2 separate regions of the Homo sapiens genome follow, and region 1 is linked to region 2. Evidence: promoter capture Hi-C in 16 types of primary human blood cells and fetal thymus (Javierre and others, 2016). All regions are on one chromosome and are shown on one strand. The core of a region is centred on a gene start or on the middle of the fragment in contact, and the rest is flanking DNA. Distances in the headings are between cores, read along the strand shown. Region 1 holds the start of TSPEAR-AS1 (TSPEAR antisense RNA 1). Region 2 holds the start of KRTAP10-7 (keratin associated protein 10-7).

The links. The method cuts DNA at HindIII sites, captures the fragments that hold promoters and counts their contacts. A CHiCAGO score of 5 or more calls a contact.
Region 1: a contact is called between the fragment with the promoter of TSPEAR-AS1 here and the fragment with the promoter of KRTAP10-7 in region 2, in 8 of 17 cell types (naive CD8 T cells, total CD4 T cells, non-activated CD4 T cells and 5 more). The highest score is 13.7, in naive CD8 T cells.

The regions. Positions count from the first base shown.
Region 1 is chr21:44,503,066-44,508,638 of GRCh38, reverse strand. TSPEAR-AS1 (TSPEAR antisense RNA 1) reads right to left here and starts at 2,595. Exons shown (of 7, transcript NR_103707.1): 1 at 2,311-2,595; 2 at 1,540-1,992; 3 at 330-602. It overlaps TSPEAR (thrombospondin type laminin G domain and EAR repeats), which reads left to right. Exons shown (of 12, transcript NM_144991.3): 11 at 3,758-3,859. RefSeq lists enhancers at 1-252, 4,958-5,477. The HindIII fragment of the contact is 6,455 bases long and covers 171-5,573 here.
Region 2 is chr21:44,598,435-44,605,212 of GRCh38, reverse strand. It overlaps KRTAP10-7 (keratin associated protein 10-7), which reads right to left and starts at 4,616. Exons shown (of 1, transcript NM_198689.3): 1 at 3,039-4,616. The coding sequence starts at 4,591. The coding sequence ends at 3,479. The region is part of intron 1 of TSPEAR (thrombospondin type laminin G domain and EAR repeats); the gene reads left to right. RefSeq lists enhancers at 1,413-2,267, 2,268-3,124, 3,223-3,982, 3,983-4,732, 5,493-6,249. The HindIII fragment of the contact is 9,535 bases long and covers 1-6,778 here.

The sequences.
Region 1 (5,573 bases), core at 1,346-3,845, 95 kb after region 2:
GAGCCACAGGAGGTTGCGTGGGCACCACATTTTGGACAGTGGGCACTGAGAATCCACAACCATCCTGACCAGTGTGGGGCGTCCTCTGGGGTGGAATTCCGGTCTGTGAATAAACCTGCAATCGAATCCGTATTACCCAGATCCCAGAGCCAGGGGCCATGGGTCAAGCTTGGAGCTGGAATCTGGCCCATTCCCATCCTGGGATGGAGCAGGCGGCTTTCCCAGGTTTCCTCGGGTTTCATGCACTCCTATTTCATTCGGTAACAATTCACCTGCCCCTCCTGGGCACTGGGCTCTAATCTCAGCTTGAGACACACAACAACACATACCTTTAGACCCTTCGAGGGGAAGAGTCTCCAAGATGAACTGCTCTGTGGAAAGGGCTGGGTGAGGTGCAGTGAAATCTTGTGTCCCCAGTGCGGAGGAGCGAGCCGGGCTGCTGTGTGCCGCTCAGCTGTGCGTGCCCACGGACGTGCAGAGAAGACTCGGGAAGGGAGTGCCCTCTCCGTCAGCAGTCACCCTAGGACCGGGAGGGCTGCAGGGGTATGTAGACAGGCCAGGAAGGACTTTCCCTATTTGCCCTGTTACTTCTGAACTCCTGGCTTTACAAAGGATGACAATGTTAACTTACTAATATCTTACTTATATGATTTTTAAAAATTAAAAAAAGAACACTCATAATAAAGAAAAAGAGCCAGCGGCGGTGTCTGCTGGGGGCACTGGGGATTCCGGGGTGACCTGCCTGTGGGCTCCGTGGCCCCTGCGTGGCCTGGCAGCCATGGCAGGAGAAACAGGCACGGGGCGGCGGTGGCAGTTGTGTGTCCCCAGCACGAATCCACGCCATCCAATGTCAACGCCGAGAACAAAACAAACATTAGGCTTTTTAGAACAACATTTAGAATAAGACAAGTTGGAGAATGAATTGTGATTAAAAATTAGTCATGGACATGATGCCCAGTCTAGAAACAGATGAGGCAGACGCCTCGGGATTTGAAAGCTGCGGGAACTGACAGAACACAGCTACACACTCGCGACTTATGGCCCTGTCACCACTGGACAGTGGTATGGACAGTTTATGAACTAAATTATGAAACACAGAAAGTACTTACCAATTAATTAAGGTAATGTTTAATAATTACCATCAAAACAGCACACACAAGTCAAACTCCTAGCCCTTCTACCCAGCATGGGGAATTCCCTACACTTCCCGGAGACGTGATGTGGCCTCACCAAGTCCAAAACCCTATTCAAGGGCGCTGAGGGGTTTTGTGGCTTCTGTGTGTAACCTTGGCTCTGACTGCCTTCAAATGGTCGCTTGTGTTTGCTTTTTAGATTCAGTAGTTCTATTAAATCCACAGATATGTGCAGCCATGGCTGCAGACAACTCTGGAACATTCTCATCCCCTCACAAGGAGCCCCCCACACCCTTTTCCAGCCCCTCCCTCCCAACTGGGCACCCCCGGGCCCACTTCCTGTCTCTGTGATTTCCCGTTCTGGACACTGCACAGAAATGGACTCGTAGAGCCGTGGCCTCTGTACCTGGCTTTTTCTCGCAGCACCGTGTCCTCCGGGTTGGTGGTGTGGCCGCGCGGCTCAGAGCATCCCCCTTCTCATGGCTGAGTCACACTTCATCCGTCCATTTGTCCGATGATGGGCATTTGCCAGAGGGCGTGATTCTGAAGAATAACATCTGTCCTACAGCGAGTGTGACCCAGGGCTGCTTTGGAGGCAGAATCGGGCACTAGATGCCTTATTTTGTGGTGAAACCGAAGCCGGCTTCTGATGTGAGCCTCGGTGCAGCCGGACAGGATCTTCCACCACTGGTACATCCGACGTGGCCGCTTGTCTTCCTCGGGTCTGGGTTTCAGAGCTCAGATCCGACTGAGGAGTAACCCCGCGGATTCACACTGACCCGGGGCCCGCGGCCGTGCCTCCAGACCAGAGCATGTGATCACAGGCGTCCTCGTCCTCCTCCCAGCGAGCTGGCACGGGCTGCATGGGAACCAAATCATAACCCACCATTAATGGAGGTGGCTCCAGATGTCACCCTGACTGACCGAAGGAGTGAGGAGCCCAAGGCCCCATGGGCTCTGCCCGCCCTGCCTGTCACTGGACACCTCTGTGATCCCTCCCTCTCCCAAGGCCCTGTCTGAGCCCCTGCTGCAGGCCGGCCCCACAACTGCCTGCAGGGAAGCACCGGGATGAGGCCCCTCTGCTGCCTGAACTGGCCACAGCCCTGAGGCTGCTGAATACAGAGGCACCCGCCTGGCCTGCATGTCAGCAGGACGCCTGCGTGTGCATGGCTTCGACCTCCATTTCCTCATCTTGAGATGTGGGGCTGACGCTGACAGCTCGGCAGGTGGGCTCCTGGGGAGGAAAGGATCCAGGGGAGCCGCTCCTCAGACCCCTCAAACCGAGCCATCCCCAAGCACAGATGCATCCTTGGTAAATTCAGGTGAGACTCCTAAGACAGGACACAGCAAATTTGTTTGCAACAAGAAACAGCTTCTGCTTCTAGGAGAACATCTGTGAACGAGCAGGTCCTGCAGGTCCTGTAGGCACCTCCTGGAGTGACCTCACGGCCGCTGACCTCACAGCTGAAGACACAATGCTGAGAGAAGAAACCAGGCACAGAGGCCACAGCACTGTGACGCCATTTCTGCACAGTGTCCAGAGCGGGAAACCAAGCTCCTGCCTCCAGCAGGCACCAGCAGCCTGAGACTTTTTCTCTGATTGTTTCAACCTCTTAAAAGTGGACTTTTGTACCCCGGTGTTCATAGCAGCAGCATTCACAGTAGCCACATGGAGGAAATTCCCCAAGTGTCTGTCAGCGGATGGACAAACACAACGTGTCCATTCACACAGCGGAGCGTTACTCGGCCTTAGAAAGGAAGGCGATTCTGACACACAGTGCGACACGGATGAACCTTGAGTCACTGGAGTCTCAGCTAAGGCAGACACAAAGGACAAATACCGTGCGATTCCATTCATATGAGGTCCCTAGAGTGGTCAAATTCATAGAGACAGAAAGTGGCGTGGTGGGTGCCGGGGCTGGGGGGGGGGGGGGGGGGAGGGGGGAGGGGGTGATGTTTACTGGGTGCAGAGCTTCGGTTTTGCAGGATGAAGGCGTTCTGGAGGTGGATGGTGGGGGCGGCCACACAGCAGTATGAATGTGCTTAATGCCCCTGATCTGTGCACCTAAAGATGGTTGAGGTGGGAAATGTTATGTTATATGTATTTTACCATAATTTAAAATTTGAGGCCAGGCATGGTGGCTCATGCCTGTAATCCCAGCACTTTGGGAGGCTGAGGTGGGCAGATCACTTGAGGTCAGGAGTTCAAGACCAGCCTGGACAACATGGTGAAACCCTGTCTGTACTACAAATACAAAAATTAGCCGGGCGTGGTGCCGCACACTTGTAATCCCAGCTACTCGGGAGGCTGAGGCAGGAGAATCGCTTGAATCCGAGAGGCAGAGGTTGCCGTGAGCCGAGATCTCGCCACTGCACTCCAGCCTGGGTGACAGAATGAGACTCCATCTCAAAAATAAAATAAAATAAAATTTGAAATTTTTTTTAAGCAAACAACTAATTTACATTTTCCTGGAATAGACCAACACATATGTGACTGTGAGAAAATCACTCCCCACTTTGGCCCCGGCTCCTCCTCTATAAATTTTGGAGGTAGCTTCTGGCCAATCCCCCAGTTCCCTGGCGATGTCTGTTGTGTCCTAATATCCACCCACTTGTTCCTGCAGTGCTCTGGACTGGGAGTTTTTCTCGGTGGGAGAAGATTATTTCCTGGTGGTGGCCAACTCCTTCGATGGGCGTACCTTCTCGGTGAACAGTATTATTTACAGGTAATGAGCTGCCGAGGCCGGCCTCCTCCCAGAGCCTTGCTTCCCCACTGTGGGCTCACCGAGGCCGGCCTCCTCCAAGAGACTTGCTTCCCCACTGTGGGCTCACCGAGGCCGGCCTCCTCCAAGAGACTTGCTTCCCCACTGTGGGCTCACCGAGGCCGGCCTCCTCCAAGAGACTTGCTTCCCCACTGTGGGCTCACCGAGGCCGGCCTCCTCCAAGAGACTTGCTTCCCCACTGTGGGCTCACCGAGGCCGGCCTCCTCCCAGAGCCTTGCTTCCCCACTGTGGGCTCACCGAGGCCGGCCTCCTCCAAGAGCCTTGCTTCCCCACTGTGGGCTCACTGAGGCCAGCTTCCTCCCAGAGCCTTGCTTCCCCCGAGGGCTCACCGAGGCCAGCTTCCTCCAAGAGACTTGCTTCCCCCGAGGGCTCACCGAGGCCAGCTTCCTCCCAGTGCCTTGCTTCCCCCTAAGGGCTCACCGAGGCCGGCTTCCTCCCAGAGCCCTGCTTCCCCCTGAGGGCTCACCGAGGCCAGCTACCCCCCGAGGGCTCACCGAGGCCGGCTTCCTCCCAGAGTCTTGCTTCCCCACTGTGGGCTCACCAAGGCCGGCCTCCTCCAAGAGACTTGCTTCCCCACTGTGGGCTCACTGAGGCCGGCTTCCTCCCAGAGCCTTGCTTCCCCACTGTGGGCTCACCAAGGCCAGCTTCCCCCCAAGGGCTCACCGAGGCCAACTTCCTCCCAGAGCCTTGCTTCCTGCTGAGGGCTCACCGAGGCCGGCTTCCTCCCAGAGCCTTGCTTCCCCGCCGAGGGCTCACCAACTCCGGCCTCCTCCCAGAGCCTTGCTTCCCGCCGAGGGCTCACCGAGGCCAGCTTCCTCCCAGCACATTGCTTCCCCCCTGTGGGCTCACCAAGGCCGGCTTCCCCCCAAGGGCTCACCAAGGCCGGCCTCCTCCCAGCGCCTTGCTTCCCCCCGAGGGCTCACCGAGGCCAGCTTCCTCCCAGAGCCTTGCTTCCCCCCGAGGGCTCACCAACTCCGGCCTCCTCCCAGAGCCTTGCTTCCCGCCGAGGGCTCACCGAGGCCGGCTTCCTCCCAGAGCCTTGCTTCCCCGCTGTGGGCTCACCAAGGCCGGCTTCCCCCCAAGGGCTCACCAAGGCCGGCCTCCTCCCAGCGCCTTGCTTCCCCCTGAGGGCTCACCGAGGCCAGCTTCCTCCCAGCACATTGCTTCCCCACTGTGGGCTCACCAAGGCCGGCTTCCCCCCAAGGGCTCACCAAGGCCGGCCTCCTCCCAGAGCCTTTCTTCCCCCCGAGGGCTCACCGAGGCCGGCTTCCTCCCAGAGCCTTGCTTCCCCCCGAGGGCTCACCAACTCCGGCCTCCTCCCAGAGCCTTGCTTCCCGCCGAGGGCTCACCGAGGCCGGCTTCCTCCCAGAGCCTTGCTTCCCCCCGAGGGCTCACCAAGGCCGGCCTCCTCCCAGAGCCTTGCTTCCCCCCGAGGGCTCACCGAGGCCAGCTTCCTCCCAGCACACTGCTTCCCCCCGTGGGCTCACCAAGGCCGGCCTCCTCCCAGCGCCTTGCTTCCCCCCTGTGGGCTCACCAAGGCCGGCTTCCACCCAAGGGCTCACCGAGGCCGGCCTCCTCCCAGAGCCTTGCTTCCCCCCGAGGACTCACCGAGGCCGGCCTCCTCCCAGAGTCTTGCTTCCCCCTGAGGGCTCACCGA
Region 2 (6,778 bases), core at 3,367-5,866:
TGTAAATGGTATTGTTTTCTTAATCTCTTTTTTGGATCATTGTTCATTGTTAGTATATAGAAATGCTATTAATTTTTGTATGTTGATTTTTTAACTTGCAACTTTATTAAATTTGTTTATCAGTCCTAATAGTTTGAAGACTAACAGGTAGAGTCTTTACAAGAAAAGAAAACTACAGGCCAACGTCCTTGACGAATATAGATGCAAAAATCCTCAAAAAAAGACTAGCAAACTGAATTCAACAGCACATTAAAAAGATCCTTCACTATGATCCAGTGGGATTTATCCCAGGGATGCAAGAATGGTTCAACATATATAAATCAATAAATGTGATACATCACACTAACATTAGAGACAAAAAACACATGATCACCCCAATAGATGCAAAAGACCATTTGAACAAATTCAGCATTCATTCATGATTAAAACTCTCAAGAAAATAGACATAGAAGAGACGCACCTCATCACGATAAAGGCCATATGCAACAAGCCCACAGCTGATGCCATACTCAGTGGTGAAAAGCTGAAAGCTCTTTCTCTAAGATCAAAAACAAGGCAAGGATGCCCACTCTTGTCACTTCTATTTAACGTGGTGCTGGAAGTTCTAGCCAGAGCAATTAGGCAAGAAAAAGAAATAAAAGGTACTGAATAGAAAAGAAAGAAGTGAGACTGTCTCTGCTGATGATGTGATCTTATATAGAGATCTCATTATCTTATCTTTGACATGTAAGTCTAGGGTTCACCCCTAGTTAATTTTTGTGCATGGTGTCTCGATGGTAGGTGAGATTGGCTATCTTATCCTGTGATTTTTGGCCATTGGACATCTTATCCTATAATTGCGTATTTCCATCTCTTTTATTCGTTTCTTTTTATGTTTTCTTTATAAATTCTGAATTTGAATCTTTTGTTACATACTGTGGGTGAAGGTCATCAATGCTGGTTCAGAAACCAACAGAAGTCAACATGTCAATGGCTTAAGCCCACAAGGCCTTCCCCACTCCTCACATTGCCATCCAAGCATGCTGCGCCCCTACCTTGTGGACCCACTCTCTGGCACGTGAGCCTCCAAGATAGCCCGGCAAGGAAGAGAGGCAGCAGGGCTCCCACAACCTGTGGCGTGGAAGTGGCAGACATCTCTCCATGCACGTTTAACCAATAGAAACTCATCATGTGGCCCTAACTAACTGCAGGTGGCTGGAACCTGCCAGCCCACGTGCCCAGGAGGGAGACAGTGAGCCCGCAGTCTCCCCGTGATGCCCCACAGGTGGCTTCTCTGGGATGGGATTGGTGGAAACTTTGATTGTGTGCTTATGCTTTTGTGTGCATTTTGCTGCATTCAAGATTGTCAGTATTTTCTCTAATGATTTGTGCCTTTTGCATTTTTTGTGAGATATTGGTTCTTTCACCAGGGATGGCGGTAGGCATTGTTGACCAGGGCAAATGGTGAATGTCCAGGTGACAAAGGGCAGTTTCAGCCACCGTCAGCTTCTGTGGTGCGGCTGAGAATGGCCCCTTGGAGGAGGCTGCTTCTCTCTGCTCAGCCACCCTGGCACGCCCTTCCTCTTGCAGGAGGTTCTGAAGTTCCACCTGTTGCCCTTGGAAGGGAACTTGATGTTTCTGCCCCACAGCACACCTCCCCTGAAGTTCACACCCGGGGCGTGGGGGGCGTGTTTCCCCAGAGGCTCACATGCCTGGATGCTTGCTGGGGCCATGCCTAGGGGAGGAGCCGAGTCTGGGATCCGCAGAGGAGGACGTGCTTCTCTGAGCAAGGCCCCTCCATCTTGCCGTCTGTGGGATTCAGGTGCCTGTAGTTGGGGGACTCACCACAGGGTCCCCTTGGTGCCTCCTGGAGAACCAGAGGGGAGCCAGTGACGCAAAGCCTGGGATGCTGACTTAGGGTGTAGCCCTGGTGCCAGAGAGAAGCCTGGCTCATTTCTTCTGCACAGGGGCCGGGGTAGGGGCAGAGGAGTGCCAGGTGGGACATGTGGGGGCTTATTCCTTGCCAGCTGGTGCTCCAGCCCCACGCCAGAGTTTCAGGCCACAGCCTCTGTGGCCACCACAGGGGAGGGACAGCTCGTTGCAGGCGCAGGTCGGCTCTGCTCCTCATGAAACCTACGATGGCCTGGCCTCACCCAGCCTCCTTCTCTGTCTCCACCCCCTCTGGAGCAGGAGTCAAAGGAAGCACTACCAGAAATGCACCCAGCACTGTCCTAGGACAGCATTGTCATTGCTTGGGAAGGGCAGCTTGGGGTCTGTGTCAGGGTCCCCAAGACGGCGATTCTCCAGGAGGACACAGGCCACACAGGTTGTGGTATTCACAGCTGTGATTTCCCACAGGGAGGACACTGAGCAAAATCAACCAAGGGAAAGGTTCCTGGGGCCGAGTCCAGGGGCACCAGGCTCAGCTTTGGAGGCCTCTCCTGGGGTGGGGGTCACGCAGGACGCGCCTCACTCCTCTGCAAGCAGCTGGGACGCTGCGTGTGCGATGTTGGGGATGCCCTGCCCGGTGATGTACCCGGGGACTGGTCACGTGAGCAGCTTCTGCCTGGGCTACGCCAGAATTCCAGACTCCCAGCAGGGATGTGGGTGTTCGGCCTAAACCACATGGTACAAACAGCTCAGGCCCAGTGAGGCGGGGCCGGGGGGAGCCCCTCGGAAATCCCAGTTCCCAGACGCCAGCCAAGGGCCAGCCCGGCCAGCGGGCCTCAGGATGGCCGTCCCCGCCCACCGTGTGGACCCATTCTGCACACGGCCATGGGGTTTCCTTTCTGGAGCCAGGGGCTGGACACAACCCAGTTTCTGGGGAGGCCCCAAAGCAGCCCCACCCAGGGCAGGCGCTGCTGTTGGATCCCTCACCTCTCCCATCCCTCAGTCCTGCCTACCCCTCGGACATCCGTGTGGTGAGGCTGGTGCAGGGCTGCCAGGACGCCTGGGAAGGACAGGGACCTCGTGGCGTGGGAGCAGCCCAGGACCACCCGCGGGTGGGGGGCATCAGGCAGGGGTCTTTGGTTGTGAACAACAAGAATGAATTCCAGTTGTACTTTTTAGGAAAGGAGTTTATTAGAAGGGTCTGACCTGCTCCCGTGGTCAGGGAAGACAGAGAAAGAGGCCCAGGCCCACAGCAGGGGAGGAGCAGGGCTCGCCACTGAGCTGGGACAGTGACGAGAAACCCAGTTGGTACCTGTCTACCCTCATTTCTCCCCACACCGGGCTATGGCCTGGGAGCACCCGCTGGCCTTGCTGGGGTCACTGCCCACCTGTTGCTGGGGAAGCAGGGCTGGGTAATTGGGGGAAAGTCAAGACTTGGAGAAACAGCTGAGCTGCTTCTAGGAGGAGAAGCGCACACTGGATGGCCAGCTGACCACTGACGTCCACTGCAGGGCTTAGGAGCGGGATGTGGAGAGCCGTCAAGGGTAAAGAATCCAGGGGTGCAGGTGGCAGTGAGCACTCAGGCTTTGGATGATCTTAAGGAGATCACTCAGCAGCTGGACTTCTGGGTTGAGGTGGGGCCACAGCAGGCCGGGCGGGAGCATGCGGGGCGGCAAAGGAGAGACACACAGGAGGCTGGGCGGCAGCAGCTGGCCTGGCAGGAGGAGGTGGGGGCGCAGCAGGAGGGGACGGGCACGCAGCAGGCGGGCCTGCACACGGGGCGGCAGAGGAGGGACACGGAGGAGGAGGGTCTGCAGCAGGAGGTGGTGCAGCAAGCCGGCTGGCAGCTAGACTGCTGGCAGCATGAAGTGGAAGCCCCAGAGCAGACGGGCACACAGCACACAGGCTTACAGCAGACGGGCACGCAGCAGCCCTGCTGGCTTTGGGAGGAGGTGCAGCAAGCTGGCTGGCAGCATGAACCGGAATCATCAGAGCAGGTGGGCACACAGCAGACGGGCTTGCAGCAGACAGGCACACAGCAGGCCTGCTGGCAAGGGGAGGAGGTGCAGCAAGCCGGCTTGCAGCTAGACTGCTGGCAGCACGAGGGCGTGCAGGAGCTGATGCAGCCTGATTGGCAGGGGCTGGGCTCACAGACCGCCTGGCAGCAGGGACTGGACACACAGCTCACACAGCTAGACTGCTGGCAGCACGAAGAGGAAATCCCAGAGCAGACAGGCTTGCAGCAGATGGGCACACAGCAGGCCTGCTGGCAGGGGGAGGAGGTGCAGCAAGCTGACTGGCAGCTAGACTGCTGGCAGCATGAAGAATCCCCACTGCAGACAGGCACACAGTACACAGGCTTGCAGCAGACAGTCTTGCAGCAGACGGGCACGCAGCAGGCCTGCTGGCAGGGGGAGGAGGCACAGCAAGCCAGCTGGCAGCTAGACTGCTGGCAGCACGAGGGCGTGCAGGAGCTGGTGCAGCCTGATTGGCAGGGGCTGGGCTCACAGGTCACTCGGCAGCAGGGGCTGGACACATAGCTCACTGGGGTGCAGACCAGGCTCAGGCAGGGGGCCGGGGCGCAGCAGGGGGGCTCGCAGCAGCTCTCTGGGCAGTCGTCCACCTGCCAGGAGTCGGAGCAAGAGTCACAGGAACCAGGAAGGCAGACGCGGCTGCCGTAGCTCAGGTCGCTGGAGCAGACAGACATAGTGGACGCAGCCATGCTGGGGATTGAACTGGAGGAGATGGGAGTGAGTGGGTGAGTGAGTGAATGAGTGAGTGAGTCCGTGTGTTAGGTGCTCAGGGATGTTGGCTTTTATATGTCTCCCTGGTCTGTTGTCCCAGCTGGAGTGTCAACAACTCCTGCCCCTTCCTTGTTTGTGTTTAAAACCTAGAGAACGCTTATTAGTGCGAGTTTCATGTTTAGTCCTATGAGATGCCGTTCAGTTTGTAAAGTCCTGAGTCTATATTTGGTTCCGTTGACGCACCCTCACCTACCTTTGGCTCCAGAGCATAATATTGAAGTAGACAGGGTGTAATGTCTGCAAATAGAGTGTCCCAGGGGCCTGTGCTGGCTGCAGGAGAGATCCATCCATCCTAATCCCAGCGCCTGTGGGCCATCGCCAGGGGACTCTGCTTGTCTGGGTGGCTGTGGCTTCTGGAATGCCAGGCTAGAGAAGCCCCTGTCAATGATGGCATGAGGGTGGAACATTCCTAGAAGTGACTCCCCACACTCTCTCTGGTGCATAAAGTCCCCCCAAGGGCTTTAGAGCAAGTGGCAAACGGGAAAGGGTGGACAGTGGTGTGAGCCATTTCCCGTCAGGTTCACAGTAGTTCCTGGGGGGCCGTGCACCCCCTCTTCCATCTGGGCACTTAGGGAGGCCCCAGATCCCTGTTTGGGGCCCCCATTTCCATTTGGTTTTATCCCAAGCACTGCAAACCTGTAAGTCTAACCCAGAACACCTCCTCCGCAAAAAGCACAGCCACTCTCAACAGCACTGCCGTGTGAAAAGCAGCAAGCACTGCTTTCGCTTGCAGTGTGTTTTCTTGATTGCCAGCTAAGTCCTTGGTCACCCCAGCTAGACATCTGATCTAAGTCTCCATTTCTTCTGCAAATAATATCCAATTGGCCACCACATCTTTTTGGTTGTTTCTGCTAAATGTTTCCAATTGTATCCGATACTTTTACTTCTCAAGCATTCATTTATTCATGATGCAGTGAGTCCTCCCACATGCTGGAAATTGCACCAGGTGCTGAGAATGTGAAAGTGAAGGGGTAGTAACCCTGACTGTGGACCCCACCAGGGAGGGAGGTGGGCTGCTTGGTGCCTGGTGATGTCAGTGATGACCAGCCATAGCCCAGCATGCATGCGGCCCTGAGAAGTGGCCCCTACCCAGGGGAGAGGGCTCCAGGGGCCCTTCTGGTGGGGTTTGATGCCCAGGCAAGTCTCAGAGGCTCAGGGTGTCCTGTGTCTCTATCTGTGTTTCCCAGTCCAGGCCTCTTAACTCCTAGGGGATTTAGGAAAAGTACAAAAGGCCTCAGAGGGCTAGAAATTCAGTTACACGGTGGGATGAATTGTCTTTCTGTATATTTTGAACTATAAAAATAATATAAATTTGAGCATGGCCTGGTCCCTCCAGAGGTACAGGATCTGGTCCTATGGGATGGAAGGAGAGAGAGAGAGAGAGAGAGAGAGAGAGAGAGAGAGAAAATGGGGGCCTCTGCTTCCATATGGGACAAAGTAGCTATGTCAGACATATACTCCTGCTGAGAACAACTTGAAAAGCTGAACAAAATGTTTTAAAAATGATTCCTTTAAAGCTCTCCTAAAAGAGCTGTTGAAGAAACTAAAGGTAATAGAATGACATCTTTAAAGAGCTGAAAGAAAATCACTGCAAACCTAGAATTCTAGACCAGGAAGAACATTGTTCAAAGGTGAAATATGAAACAAAACAATTCTGGATAACAACTGAGCAAACTGAACACGAGCAGACCTACTCTACAGTAACTATGAAAGGGGATTTTTTTAGGCAGGATGACGGAAGGATAAAAATGCAGGAAGGAACCAGGAGGATCTGAAAGGGTAATATTATTATATTTATAATCTCTTGTGGGGTCTAAACTAGAAGTAGAAAAGTAATGCATGATGACATTAACAATAAAAGGTGAGAAGGATAAATGGAGTGAAAGTTTTCTAAGGTTTCAGCATTGTTTTGGAAGCGGCGGAAGTGCTGACATATGTTACACTTGAATAATCTAAGAATGTGTGCTATAATCTCTAAAGTGACCACGGAAGAGATAGTAAAAACTATGTATAATCAATGTATAATCAATAATGTTAGAAATAAGGCTCAGAGTCGTAAGGAAAAACGAGCACTGAGACAAAGGATTTCTCAGCAAAGCAAATGT